2 separate regions of the Homo sapiens genome follow, and region 2 is linked to region 1. The links are contacts of gene promoters, found by promoter capture Hi-C in blood cells and fetal thymus (Javierre and others, 2016). All regions are on one chromosome and are shown on one strand. The core of a region is centred on a gene start or on the middle of the fragment in contact, and the rest is flanking DNA. Distances in the headings are between cores, read along the strand shown. Region 1 holds the start of ARID3B (AT-rich interaction domain 3B). Region 2 holds the start of RPP25 (ribonuclease P/MRP subunit p25).

The links. Contacts are between HindIII fragments. The CHiCAGO score rates a contact against its expected background, and 5 or more counts as called.
Region 2: a fragment that was not itself captured here is called in contact with the fragment with the promoter of ARID3B in region 1 in 1 of 17 cell types (non-activated CD4 T cells); the score reaches 5.6 in non-activated CD4 T cells.

Annotation. Positions count from the first base shown.
Region 1 is chr15:74,537,661-74,544,788 of GRCh38, reverse strand. It overlaps ARID3B (AT-rich interaction domain 3B), which reads right to left and starts at 3,569. Exons shown (of 9, transcript NM_006465.4): 1 at 3,459-3,569; 2 at 301-929. The coding sequence starts at 852. It overlaps LOC124903528 (a long non-coding RNA gene), which reads left to right and starts at 3,701. Exons shown (of 2, transcript XR_007064719.1): 1 at 3,701-3,891. RefSeq lists enhancers at 2,574-2,633, 3,984-4,133, 3,708-4,249, 4,184-4,313 and silencers at 2,623-2,807, 3,324-3,683. The HindIII fragment of the contact is 12,648 bases long and covers 1,503-7,128 here.
Region 2 is chr15:74,953,030-74,960,349 of GRCh38, reverse strand. RPP25 (ribonuclease P/MRP subunit p25) reads left to right here and starts at 3,578. Exons shown (of 1, transcript NM_017793.3): 1 at 3,578-5,932. The coding sequence starts at 3,767. The coding sequence ends at 4,366. RefSeq lists enhancers at 1,410-1,966, 2,961-3,894, 3,895-4,828, 4,829-5,762 and a silencer at 3,286-3,935. The HindIII fragment of the contact is 524 bases long and covers 5,717-6,240 here.

The sequences.
Region 1 (7,128 bases), core at 2,320-4,819:
AACCTGGGAGATGGAGGTTGCAGTGAGCCGAGATCATGCCACTGCACTCCAGCTTGGGTGACAGAGTGAGACTCCATGTCAAAAAAAAAAAAAAAAAAAGAGTAACATATATTTCATTGCTTTAATGAAGAAAATAAATATTAAATAAGAAAAAAATCCAAAGTCTATTCATGTCTAGGCTGTTGGTCACCGAAGTGGGGTGAGAAGGCACAGACTGGCACAGCCCCTGACCCTGTCAGTCCATGACCCCTCTCTGGCCTTCAGGAAGACCAAATGACCTACAATACCAGAAAGACTGACCTGCTTGAGCTGCTCATCCAGATTCCAGTTCGGCTGTCCTGCTGTGGAGACAGAAGGTGAGGCCTTGGAAGCATCTTTGGTATGGTCTTCTTTAGCTTGTTGTCCATGTGGTGGGAGCCCTGGTGCTGGAAGTAGATTGGACATGGGTGCCACTCTGGGATCTTGGCGAGCTACTTTCTGCACATGAAAATATTTTGAAGCAGCCTGGGTTTCTTTCTCAGCCACCTCTGCAACTTCATCATCCCCATCCTCATCTTCCAAACCTCCGTCCTCTTCCTCAGGCTCTGAGTTCATGTTGCCCCGTTCAAACACTTGGGCCACTGCTGCGGTGGGTGGAACTCTGGCTAAGGGACCTAAGGGAGTGCTGCCAGAAGGTCTCCCAGCTGTGGCGGAAAGGAGAGTCGGCTGTGTGACCAGCTTTTGGGCATACAAGAACTGGGCTTCTCTCATCTGCTGGCCCTGCTTCTCTCTGGCATCCATCTGCAGAGGAGCCAGGTGTGGCTGCTTCTGTTGTTGCTGCTGCTGCTGCTGCTGCTGCTGAAGTGGCTCCATTTTTGCCTCAAGCTTCACCCACAGAGTGGCATGACTCTGAACCTGGGCACAGCCCACCAGGCACACTGGGTCTAAACCTTAGTGATTAACAGAAACCACAAAGAAGGAGGGGGAAAAAACAACCATGTTAAGCAGGTATAAAAAGGTTTCCTTTTCTCCAGTAGAGGGCCATGAGTTCCGAACGCTAAACATATGCTCCTAAACCTGAGTTTTAAGATGAGTGAGTGGTGGGGGTTTCGTGGGTGGGTAGGAAAAGGTGTGAAGAAGAGAAACAGGATCTAAGAGGGGAAATAGGGAATGAATTTCAGTAGTAGTAGCAGGCTTTAAAAGAAGTACATCCAGCCAATATCTAGTCTGCTAACGTGTTCTGATCTCTCTTCCTCTACATTATCAAACATTAATCTGTTACTGAACTAATGTTACTGAACATTAATTACTGAAAAGGTAACTGGGTTTGCACTGTAGCAGAAGCATAATTATGCAAACAACAATAATAAAGGAAAAGAAGGACCTGCCTGCAAAGGAGAGAGTATGTTCCCAAGCCCACAGGAGAAAGATATCACCTCTAAGCTAGACACAGAACTATCAGGCAGACAGTTTTACTCTCATAGAAAAAGCAAGACCAAGCAAGCTGCTCTTGGGTCTAAGCTTTTCAAATTTCCCTGATCAAATTGCCAGCCTGCTTGTTGAGTGGACTGAGCCATACTAACTGGACATTATAGCCTCAAAAAGAATCCAATTTCAACAACATGAAAGAAACACGCAAGGAGGCAAGAGTCTCAAATTGCAATCGTCACTCAAAAGCAAACGGGGGAATTCCTCTGGAGATTTTAAAGTTAATTAATTTGAAACAGATATCAACATTGTCTGAACAACAAGTTAATGCTGCTTCTTTTTTATAAACAGCGAAGTAAATCTCTTCACATCCCCTTTCTTTCTGATTCATTTCTATTATGATATTCTCTGACAAACACAAAAAGAAAAGTCTTTCGGGCCAAAAGCATTCTGGGGGCAGGTTTATCTGCATTCTTACCAATCAGTCTCCAAACACACATCACTTTCACACCCTCTTCTCCTTTTACTCCCCCACCTCTCCCCTGCAGGCCCTCACCCCCAACAAACTTCACTTGAGTTATGTTTCTTCAGCAAGTCTCCATAACTGAATGGATTACTATGCAAGGGCAATTTTAGGTGAACAGGACTTGCAACATGGCGTACAATTTTGTCATCACATGAAAGAAGCTGCACTGCACATGTTGGGACTTGATATCTGCATTGTTCCAGTGTTTTAGGATTGGGTCGAAAGACAAAAAACAAAGTGTCTTTAGTATCTTCAAAAATTCACGGAGAAGTAATCACATCTTCAGCAATAAAAACTGCTTGGATTTAAGATTTTTTCCAGGTTAGAGTAAAAAAGGGTACAATTTTTAAAGCTAGGCCAATTAGTAGAGATTAAAAATTCTCATTTTCTGTTTATCTTATAGCCCTGTTTGTGCCTTTTGTGTTCTGTGAAAGATTCGCATTCCAATTTGCCTCTTACTGCCTTTACTTCCTCTCTTGGCACTTCAGAAAGTGTGAGTTACGCTTGCAGCAATACTTTCATTCTGCTTTAGCTCTTCTTACAGTGTAAAAAAGCATGACAAGATTTACATCCACATTAAATTCAGTTGGCAAAAGTGTTCATTTAAAATGAAAACAATTTGGGTCAAAGAAAATTACAGAATAAAGCAAATAATTCGGTGTTCATTTTAAATGTCCTCATAGTCATTACAGTCAATCAATCACGATCGGAATAACTTCTCAACCAAGTCCTGCCAGTCACTGAACAACTGCTTCTTGTCTTGTGGCACCATCTTCTCTGAATGCTGTCCCCAGCAGAGGGGGAGGTGTCCCTCCCACAGCCTCTTATAGTAAGACTGAGATGACTCAGTTCTACAACTCAATACACACACCCTCCCCCAAAGAGCCCATTTTCCCGCAGTCCCTAAGCAGCCAGCGATCCAAACAATGCCACCTGCCTACATTTGGAGAACTTATGTCTCAAATCTAAACCTCTTCATCCCTTCACACGGGCCCCTCCCCCATTTCCCCTAAAGTTCCCGGACCACCAAGCCGGGTACAACGGACTACCTGCAGCTTTGAACCCGGCCTGCTGACCATTCCCCTGCTTTTGCTGCCGGATTCTTTTGGCCCCGGGCCCCTGTAAGCCCCACAGCCCACCTTCCCGGTCACCCCTGCACGCCTCCCCCCATTCTTTATTCACCTCCCCCCATTCAGCCCTATCATTTTTACCTCTACCAACCCTCCCAGCCAATCCGCTGGCTCTTCCGATGGCCCCCGCCCCACCTATCTGCGCGCCCACTCAGCTCCAGGGCCCCTCACCCTTCTCATCGCTTTATCTCAAACGCTTTATCTCAAATGCCCTAATGGGCACAGGGCGCTCGGGGCTCCCGCGGCGCTCTCACTTTCCTTCGCGGTCCCCGCGCCCCCGACTCGCGCATTCCCCTCTCTCTCTACACCTGCCTCGGCTCCTGGCCTCGGCCCCTCCACCTGTCGCAGCCTCCTCTCCCGCCATGCCTGAGGGAGCCCGGACCCGGGCCACTTACCTGTGCGGGGCACTCCGGGTTTTCGGGCGGCGGAGGAGGCGGCAGCTCAGGCCCCGGCGCGGCAGCTGCGTCTCGGACTCCTCCGCAGCCGGGGGCCACAGCCGGGGCGGGGCCCGCACCGGAAGCGGCGCCGCGGGGCTGGACCGCCAGCCAGGGGCGGGGGCGGGGGCGGGGCGGGGCCACAGGGGGCGGGGCGGGACCGAAGCCGGAAGCTGCTAGAAAGGGACCGGGGGGCGGGGTGGGACGAGGCGGAAGTGACTCCTACGGACCGCGCAGCCCGACTGAGTTGTGGGAGGAAGCGAATGGAAGCGGGCGGAAGCCTCGGCCAATGGCAAAGTGCGGACACAGAGGGGTTCCGGTGTGAGCACTTCCGCGGGGAGTTGAAAAGAGCTGGGCGGGAGATCGTGTTCTCCGAGCGTTTTCTATTGCGGAGGTTGGTGTGGCTTGGGCGGTTGGCTGGGAGGAAAGTAACTAAAGAGCAGAGGAGTGTAGGGTTTGCCGTCGCTTCGGTCCCCTCCTCAATCTCCTGCCTTCAAGCCGGTCTTCCTCAGAGGTTCTCGTGTTTAGATCAGCTTGTCTCTAAACTTCTCCGCTCCTTCCTGGGACAGAGACCTGGCTGTCCCGAGAATGTTGCGTCCCTTGAAACTTTCTCACATGAATTAGTATTCTCAGGTCTCAGTTTGCAGAGGTCGGGATTATGTGCCAGGTGCTGTCACCTCTTGTAAAAACACTTGCTTCTTCAGCCCTTCCCCTTAGACTCTGTCACCTACTTCACCCCGTTTGGAGATAATCTGCCGATCTGTGTATCCAGCTCCTTGTCTGTCTCCCGTCTGACCATCTTTGATAATTTCAGAGCCTATGTGGCCAACCCATTCAACATCGGGCCTCGTCTTTAGCGACCCTTATATCAGCCTCCCAATCCCAGTTAAAACCTGGACCTTGTCCCTCCAAACGCTATCGCGTCACGACTCAGTAATTTGAACAACCCTCTTTTCAACCACAGCCTGCTATTCTCTCAGCTTGACTACTTTTGAATTATAGGCCTGATGCAGTAGCTCACGCCTGTAATTTCAGCACTTTGGAAGGCTGAGGCAGGCGAATCTCTTGGGCCCAGTAGTTGGAGAGCAGCCTGGGCAACAAGGCGATACCCCATCTCTACAAAAAATACAAAGTTTAATGAGGCGTTTTGGCGCATGCCTGTGGTCCCATCTACTCGGAAGGCTGAGGTGGGAGATCACCTGAGCCCAGGAGAGGCGGAGGTTGCAGTGAGCCATGATTGTGCCACTGCACTCCAGCCTGGGTGACAGAGACACTGTTCCCCCCCCCCAAAAAAAATAGAATTACAGCATAACTGTTATTACTGTTATTTCACTTTTTTTTTTTAGAAGGAGTCTTGCTCTGTCGCCCAGGCTGGAGTGCAGTGGCGCAACCTCAGCTCACTGCAACCTCCGCCTCCTGGGTTCAAGCAATTCTACTGCCTCAGCCTCTCGAGTAGCTAGGATTACAGGTGTGCGCCACCAAGCCAGCTAATTTTTGCATTTTTAGTAGAGACAGGTTTCGCCATGTTGGCCAGGCTGGTCTCGAAGTCCTGAACTCAGGTGATCCGCTCGCCTCGGCCTCCCATAGTGCTGGGATTACAGGCGTAAGCCACTGCACCCGGCCTGTTCTTTCACTTTATCAGAGCAGAGCATCTAATCGGTTGAAAGCCTCTACTTTATCTCTTATACATTAATCCCCTCTTCACTTCCTTCCTTATCCATTTTAGATTCAGTGGTACATTAATACAGTCCTGCCCCTACTTAATCTTAATCCCACCACAACACTCCTTTTTCCCCAACGAAATCCCTCACCCTGGATGGACCTATGTGTTTCTCCTTGCTTGTACCTTGTCATAGAAAGTTGTCCTGTTGCTGGGCGTGGTGGCTCATGCCTGTAATCCCAACACTTTGGGAGGCCGAGGTGGGCGGATCACGAGGTCAGGAGTTAGAAACCAGCCTGGCCAATATGGTGAAACCCCGTCTCTACTAAAAATACAAAAATTAGCTGGGTGTGGTGGCGCATGCCTGTAGTCCCAGCTACTGGGGAGGCTGAGGCAGAAGAATCGCTTGAACCTGGACGGCGGAGGTTGCAGTTAGCCGAGATCACGCCACTGCACTCCAGTCTGGGTGACAGAGCAAGATTTCATCTCAAAAACAAAAAAATTGTCCTGTTGAGGCCGAGCACGATGGCTCATGCCTGTAATCCCAGCACTTTGGGAGTCCGAGGCGGGTGGATCACCTGAGGTCAGGAGTTTGAGACCAGCCTGACCAACATGGTGAAACCCTGTCTACTAAAAATACAAAAATTAGCCGGGCGTGGTGGTGAAGACCTGTAATCCCTGCTACTCCAGAGGCTGAGGCAGGAGAGCTTGAACCTGAGAGGAGAGGTTGCAGTGAGCTGAGATTGCATCATTGCACTCCAGCCTGGGCAACAAGAGCAAAGCTCCACCTCAAAAAAAGAAAAAGTGTCCTGCTGAACAGATTGGCGTCACTACATTAATAAAGACCAACTTTAAATGGACTGTGGGTCAGGTGCGGCGGCTCACACCTGTAATCCCAGCACTTGGGAGGCTGAGGTGGGTGGATCATGAGGTCAGGAGTTCGAGACCAGCCTGGCCAACATTGTGAAACCCCGTCTCTATTAAAAATACAAAAATTAGCTGAGCGCAGTGGCAAGCACTTGTAATCCCAGCTACTTTGGAGGCTGAGGCAGAAGAATTGCTTGAACCCGGGAGGTGGAGTTTGCATTGAGCTGAGATCGCGCCACTGCACTCCAGCCGGGGTGACAGAGCAAGACTCCGTCTCAAAAAAAAAAAGGACTGTGAACTGTGACTAGAAATTTCATTATATTTTTCTAGTCAACTTGCTCTCCACGATCTCTACAAATCTCTGACCTATACCCTTACCACTTCCCCTGACTTCCTTATCATGTAAGTAACAGAAAATGTAGAATGTCCTGAAATCGAGAAACCTACTTACTTGCCTTCCCATCCTGTCCTTACCTCCTATTTATTCAATCAAAAATATTCATTCAACTCCCACTATATGCCAGACCAGGCACTCATGTAGGTGCTTACTGAGCAATGGACAAAACAAATTCCCTGCTCGCAAGGATCTTTACTAGTTCGAGGAGAGAAAACAAGTATGTAATGTCAGGGATATATGCTAAGAAAACAAAGCAGGGTAGGGATTAGACAGTGGTGTCAGGTAGCTGCTATTTTAGATGTTAGTCAGAGAAGAATTTATAAGGAGCCCTTAAGCAGAAACTGGCCTTGACTTAATGGGTGTAAGCCATGTAGATATCTAGGGGGAGAGTGTTCCAGGCAGAGGAGACAGCAAATTCAAATGCCCTGAGGCAGGAGCCTGCTTGAGGTGCTATGGGAATAGCAAGGAGATCACTATGTTGATTCAGAGTGAGTGATGGGGAGAGTGCTAAGAGACCAGATAAAAAAGGTAGCTGGGGCCTTACCATGCAGGGCCTTCTCAATTATGGCAACAATTTTGCCGGTCACCACTGAAAGCCCTGGAGAGTTCTGAACACAAGAGCTACTTGATCAGATTTATATCTCTAAAGGGATCATTCTAGCTGTTGTGTTGAGAATAGACTATGAGGGTAAGGGGTAAGAGTAGAA
Region 2 (7,320 bases), core at 4,729-7,228, 410 kb before region 1:
TCTTTTCCTTTTCACCAGTTTTCTTTCCCCCAATCCCTTTACAATTTTTTTAAATTCACAAATAATATATGAAAAATAATAACAGCCAACATTTCCTGAGAACTTAGCAGCCAAGGTTCCAAGACGGCTGTGTCTCATAATCACTCTGTGAGGTAGATTACTATAATTAGCCCCATTTTACAGATGACAAAGCCAAAGCAAATGGGTTAAGTAAATTGTCCAAGGTCACACAGAGGCAGAAAGAAGCTAATAGAAGCTGAAGCTTCAGGGTCAGTAGCTCATTTATGCAAGCTGCTCCAAGACTCTGTATTCATATTTAATTGTCCTTTTCTTAAAGAAGGTAATGAAAACTTCATGCGGTAACAAGAGGTCAGTGTGCTGTTTTCTTGCAGATATTTTAAAAATACATTTACATCTATAAACACACACGGAAATAAATGCCCCCCTACTCTGTGTATGGCTGGCACCCAGCTCCTTTAACACAACGTCTTCACTGACTCCACTTTTCTAACCATTGTGTGGTGTGCACCACTGATGCTCTACTTTAAAATTTACCAGCCTTTCTGAAGTTGAGCCCTGTGCTCCCCTCCTCTGACTCTGGCCCCACCCTGGGGTTCCCACCCTCTTCTCAGCTTTTTCTCCCTTCGCCCTGTCCCCTACGCTGTTTCCCCCCTCATACAGCCCCTTTCCCTGTGTCCTCACTACTTCATGCCCCAATTCCTTCCTGCCTCTCGCGTTTCTCCTCTCTCCTCGCCACCCCGCCCCGTCCTTCACCGCCCACCCTGTTTTCCCCGCTCGCTGCCCGCTCTCTCCCACTCCAGCTTCCTCCAGGCCTGCCACATTACCCTAATTCACAGCACCCCATCCTTCCTCCCTCACTCCCCGCATCTCCCGCCCCCACCCCCTACACCCCTTCACGGCTAGGAGGGAGCGCACAGCCGGCGGGCTGCGACGCGCGCTGACAGTGTAATGAATGGCTTCAGCTGTAATTAGCGACCCCGCGGCTAATCACGATGTACATTTACATTTTAAGTGCTGCAGAGGGAGCGCGGGAAGGGGAGGGGACCGGCAGGAGGGAATGCGGCCCTTTTCGGCGTTCTCCCTTCACCGACTGTGGAGAGCAGTGAATGCGAGTCTTCTACATCCGACAGCAGTTTAGGAGGTTGGGGACGGCTGGGTCCTCGAGGGCCAACCTGGCCGGACGCAGAACCGCCCCGTCCTCGCCCTACACAAACCTGAAGCTCCCAGGACCCTTTCTCCAAATGACAGAACTCCGCCCAATCCCTTCCAAGTGATCGTGCAGCCCAAACTTGCATACTCCCGGGGACGGAGAGCTCGCTCCTTCCACAACCAGCCCGTTCCAACGTAACTTCCAGCCTTTCGGGGGCTTTTTCTCAGGGCCTGACCTTACACAGCCCTCGGTTCTCCACGCCCCGCTACGCGCTGCGGACAGTCTTTGTTTCTTCCCAAGGCTGCTGTGCCTCCAGCCCCCACCGCTGTGTGGGGCCCATGGAGACTGGACCGAGACCGAAGTCCCGGTTCGGAGCATACCCCGAGGGTTCCTGATCCCACCAGGAGACGGGGAGGGGGTCAGCCATTCACACATTGCGGTGCCAAGGTCCAGTCGCCGCAGCCACTCCCAGGAAGTGGTAAGAGGGTAAATCCCGGTTCTGAACAGCAGGGACCGAGGGCCGCTCCCAAGAAGTGACAAGGAAGTAAACCCTGGTTTTGAACAGCAGGGACTGAGAGCTGCTGCAGATGCCCAGAGGGCGAGAACAGCGGGAGGAGGGAGAACAGCATCTGGCAGCCCCATCTCCAACTGAGGCCCAGCAATCCAAGGCACTGTCATGCCCCCAGCACTTTCCCGGTGGCCCGCCCGCCCCAGCTCTCTGTGTCCCTCCCCGCCACGCCCCGTCACAGTCCCCTGGCTAGGACCAGATCTGCCGCCCTCTCTCAGTCCTGACTGCGTAGGGCGGGTGGAAGGAGGACGGGGGAATCCCGAGAGCAGTTTTAGGGAGGGTCGGGCCCCTTCTCAGACCCCCTCCCTTCCATCAGTAGTCCTGACAGCCCCCAATCTCATCTTTCTCTAATGCTTCTCTCACCCGGCAGGAGACCCCGGGCCTCTCTTTCGGTCCCGTGGAGTTTCCGCCGGAGAGGCATCCAGTAGTTCCATAATGCCCCCAGGGCTTCAACTCCCCATCTTCCTCCCTTCTTTCTCTCTTTTATTTTTTTTTAAGTCTTTTTAATTTTTGTGGGTATACAATAGGTGTCTATATTTAGAGGGTACATGAGACGTTTTGATACAGGCATGCAATGCATAATAATCACATCCTGGAGAATGGGGTATCCCTCCCTTCTCTTTTGTATTTTATTTAATTAATTAATTTATTCATTTTTCGAGACAGAGCTTTGCTCTGTCGCCCCGGCTGGAGTGCAGTGGCATGATCTCGGCTCACTGCAGCCTTCAGCTCCCGGGTTCAAGCGCTTGTCCTGCCTCAGCCTCCCGAGCAGCTAGGATTACAGGAGCGTGCCACAACGCCGAGCTGATTTTTGTACGTTTAATGGAGACGGGGTTTCACCATGTTGACCAGGCTGGTCTCGAACTCCTGACGTCAAGTAATCCGCCCACCTCTGCCTCCCAAAGTGCTGGGATTAAAAGCGTGAGACACCGCGCCCGGCCCCTCCCTTCTCTTTTTTAAAACCTGCGTTCACCTAGCCTCCTTTCGAAAAGGACCCCACTGGATCTCAAGGGGCCAATGTTGCCTGAGCGAATTCCGCCTGGGAGGAAGGGGGCGGCCACGTTGGCAAGGCATCGTGCCTGGCTCACCCTAAAGCGCGCAGCTCTAAGGGTGGGCTCTAGGGCCTGGGTGGAGCGAGCCTACCGCCTTTTCAGAAGAGGTCACGCCCGCTTCCCCACGCGCCTCGGGGAACAGCCTGGCCCAAAGCCTCACTCCTCACGTCCCAGGGGTGGACGGGGGTCCGGGAGCCTCGAGCTCCGGGCAGGCGTGGCGAGGCTGAAGTCTGGGTCTTCCGCGCCCCGCGAGGACCACGCCGCGACGTAATCGCCCGCGGGGAGGCGCGGAGTGGAGCCGCAGCCAGCTCCTCCCGCACTCTGCTGACCGCGCACTAGCTGTCCTTGAGGCAAGAATACTTGGGAGCGGAAAAAAGGTGGGGGTGTTCCCCGGGGCGGGGGAGGAGGGGCAAGGCCCCAGCAAGCCTCTTGGAAATCTCTCCCTGGGAGGGGACGAGGGGCGGCCTTCAGTTGCAAATGGGAAGGGCTCGGATACCGGATTTGAAGCAGTGTTTGCACGGCAAGCGCAGCTTTTATTTAGACTGCCGGTTTGTGAGGGTTGGCTCTCAGAGCGCTGATGGCGATTATAGTGGAACTTCACCTTCACCTGCTCATGCGCCCCGCAGCGCGCCCGCTCCCACGCCCGCGTAGCTGAGGACCCAGACTCGCCAGGAAAGGCTAGTGAGGCTGGGGCCCGGGCGGGCCCGGCCGGGCCGGGTCAGGGGAGGGGCCTGGCGGCAGGGGCGGGGCCTCAGCTAAAGGCGCGGAGCACCCGGCGCCGAGAGCGCTGAGTAGAGCGGCGCCCGCTCGAGAGAAGTGGGGCCGAGATCGCGCCGTCCCAGCCCGCCCGCCGGCGTCTGCGCTGCTCCGGCGCCCTTACCCCTGCTGGCCCTTGCAAGGCGCGACCGGCGGCCATGCAGCCCCGGGGCTGAGGCCGCCCCATGGCAAAGCCGGCGGTCCCGGCGACGACGGCGCATGGAGAACTTCCGTAAGGTGCGCTCCGAAGAGGCGCCAGCGGGGTGCGGGGCCGAGGGAGGCGGCCCGGGCTCCGGCCCCTTCGCAGACCTGGCGCCGGGCGCGGTGCACATGCGGGTCAAGGAAGGCAGCAAGATCCGGAACCTGATGGCCTTCGCCACCGCCAGCATGGCGCAGCCAGCCACGCGCGCCATCGTCTTCAGCGGCTGCGGCCGGGCCACCACCAAAACCGTCACGTGCGCCGAGATCCTCAAGCGCCGCCTGGCGGGCCTGCACCAGGTCACGCGGCTGCGCTACCGGAGCGTACGCGAGGTGTGGCAGAGCCTCCCGCCTGGGCCCACGCAGGGTCAGACGCCTGGCGAGCCGGCCGCTAGTCTCAGCGTACTTAAGAACGTGCCCGGCCTCGCCATCCTACTTTCCAAGGACGCGCTGGATCCGCGACAGCCCGGCTACCAGCCCCCGAATCCCCATCCTGGTCCCTCGTCCCCGCCAGCCGCGCCAGCGTCCAAGAGGAGCCTAGGGGAACCCGCAGCTGGAGAAGGCTCCGCGAAGCGATCGCAACCCGAGCCAGGGGTTGCGGACGAGGATCAGACGGCCTGAAACTCCGGACTGTGGGCCACCTAGTCCGGCAGGATCTTCCGCCAGCGCCTCCACCTTCAGATGTACCTCCAGCCTTTCACTCCTCGGTCCTCCGGAGCCCACAACCTGGACACAGCTCCTCAAGACAGGTAGCATGGACCTTAAGGCGACAAGAGAGGGGCCCCAGGAGTGGCAGGAGAGGATCCCCGACCACCCTAGGGAAACTTCGTGCGATAATTGCTGCTTATGCCCGTGTTGCGTGAAGACACGGAACTTCACCTTTTCTGGGACCTTCTTTGGGGGAGAATGGTGGACAGTGGGATTCTGGAAACTTGTTTGGGACCCCCAAGGGTTAAAGCCACCCAGCATTCACGAAGAGCACCTGAAGTATGGAAGCTGAGAAGAGTTATTGGAATCACCCCCACCGTTGACAGAGGAAGGCAGGGGGTGAGAATTAACTGCTTGAGGGTAGGAGAGTCTGAGATGTGGGGGCCCTATTCCGCTCCCCGCCCTGGGACAGTTTTCCTTTCTAGTTTTCTTTCCCCTGCTTCAGAGGAGCATCTCTGAGGGTTCTAGCTCTTTTAACACCCCTTTTCCCCCTGCTGGCCCAGAGGGAGACCCAGGACTGAACTCTCCAGGCCTCCTCCCCTGAGCCCTGCAGCTGGCTGGAGTCTTGCTTCCAATAAAACAAGCACAAAAATGGCTGTGTCCCCCATTTTTTTTCTAACCACCCGCCTGTGCAGAGACAGCTCTCGCCTGGCCCCTTGTGTCTCCCCTCCCCTCCAGCCTTGCGTCCTGAGTCTTTGGAGTCTTCAGGGTCAGGCACAGAGACTGAACAGCTTCAAAATGGTGCAAGGCACTGCCCAGTCCCTGGCTTCTTCCTCTCTCCTCCCCCACTCCGCCCTCCCGGGCTGGCCCTGGCCTCAGAGGCTGTTGCAAATGGGGGCCCGTGTACCCCTGTACATCGCCACTAAGGGAAAGGGAGCGGCACATTGTTTTTCTGGGAGGGGAAGGAAGGAGTGGAAGGACAGCATCGATGAACTCTCCTGGAGGTCACTGCAAAGGGTGGCAGACCCTGCTGAGGTCCCTGAATCTGCAGCCTCCAGACAATAAACTGAACCTTACCCAGAAGGCTGGCACAAAGCCCCCAGCTCTGTGGGTAGGATCTCCCCTTCACTGCCCTCTCTCTGAGAAAGGACAGCACACCCTTGGGAAAGGGGGAGGAGAGAGACTGAGCACAAATCCACTGCTGGAAATTACTATTCAGCAGAGAAGCTGGGTCTTGGGCTGTGAATCACTGCAGGCCTCCTGATAAGCTGCTGCCTCCAGCCCTGCACAGCTGTCTGTTGAGAGATAACAGCCTCATAAGCTTCTCTGCCCAACTCCAAGCCAGCTGGGGGGTGGGGGTGCTGCTGTGTGCTGGAAGAGCTCTGGTGAGTTGGGGGTGGCATACAGCCCCAGGATCTCAGAAGCAGATCTCATCCCATGCAACTCAGCAGCACCCCTGGAAAGGGGGAGATGCGGAAGAATGTATTTATAAGTCATTTTGCTGGCAGAACCCTGAAATAAATCCTGCTGGTGACAAGAGATACGTTCTGTGGCTGACTGGAGGGGCTCTTAGGGAGGTTTCCCTCCCCTGCAGTATCTCTGCTTGAGCTTTGGAGTGAGCTTTGTCATCCAGACTTTGTCCCTCGTTGCTCTCCCCAAATTCCTGCTCTTGATGAGTCCCTGGAGAGGGCCAAGGGGTTTGGGTTTGCTTGTCTGACCCTCTCAGGGGTGGCCCAAGAAGCATGGAAAGAATGTAAACTGTCCTGACAAGATGGCCTAGCTTCTCCTGGACTTCAGCATCTAAAGGCAGTGATAAAACTTGGACAAGGTCCTGCATGGTAGAAGCTTAAGGGAGACTGGTCTTGGTTCTGAAAAGGGTCCAACTTTCCAAGACAACAAGTGACTGATAGCCGGGTTACCAGGACTATGAAAGCAGGGCCTGAGGCCGGGCATGGTGGTTCATGCCTGTAATCCTGTAATCCCAGCACTTTGGGGGGCCAAGGCGGGCAAATCACGAGGTCAGGAGCTTGAGACCAGCCTGGCCAACATGGTGAAACCCCGTCTCCACTAAAAATACAAAAATTAGTCAGGCATGGTGGCGGGCGCCTGTAATCCCAGCTACTCAGGAGGCTGAGGCAGGAGAATCGCTTGAACCTGGGAGGCGGAGGTTGCAGTGAGCCGAGATTGCATCACTGCACTCCAGCCTGGGCGACAGTGTGAGACTCCGTCTCGAAAAAAAAAAAAAGAAAGCAGGGTCTGCTAGTCTTGTCACGGAGATAAGGCTGCAATGGATTTTTTTTTATTATTTTTTTTGAAACGGAGTATCTCTCTGTCGCCCGGGCTGGAGTGCTGTGGTGCGATCTCGGCTCACTGCAACCTCTGCCTCCTGGGTTCAAGCGATTCTCCTGCCTCAGCCTCCTGAGTAGCTGGGATTACAGGCGTGTATCCCCACACTCGGCTAGTTTTTGTATTTTTAGTAGAGAAGGGGTCTCACCATGTTGGCCAGGCTGGTCTCAAACACCTGATCTCAGGTGATCCACCCGCCTCGGCCTCCCACAGTGCTGGGATTACAGGCATGAGCCACCACACCCGGCCTCTCTTTTTTATTTTTTTTATTTTAATTATTATTATTATTATTTTGAGAAGGAGTCTTGCTCTGTCACTAGGCTGGAGTGCAGTGGTGCAATCTCAGCTCACTGCAACCTCCACCTCCTGGGTTTAAGCGATTCTTCTGCCTCAGCCTCCCAAGTAGCTGGGATTACAGGCATGTGCCACCACGCCCAGCTAATTTTTGTATTTTTAGTAGAGACGGCATTTCACCATGTTGGCCAGGATGGTCTCAATCTCTTGACCTTGTGATCCACCTGCCTTGGCTTCCCAAAGTGCTGGGATTAGAGGTGTGAGCCACCACGATTTTATATATATAT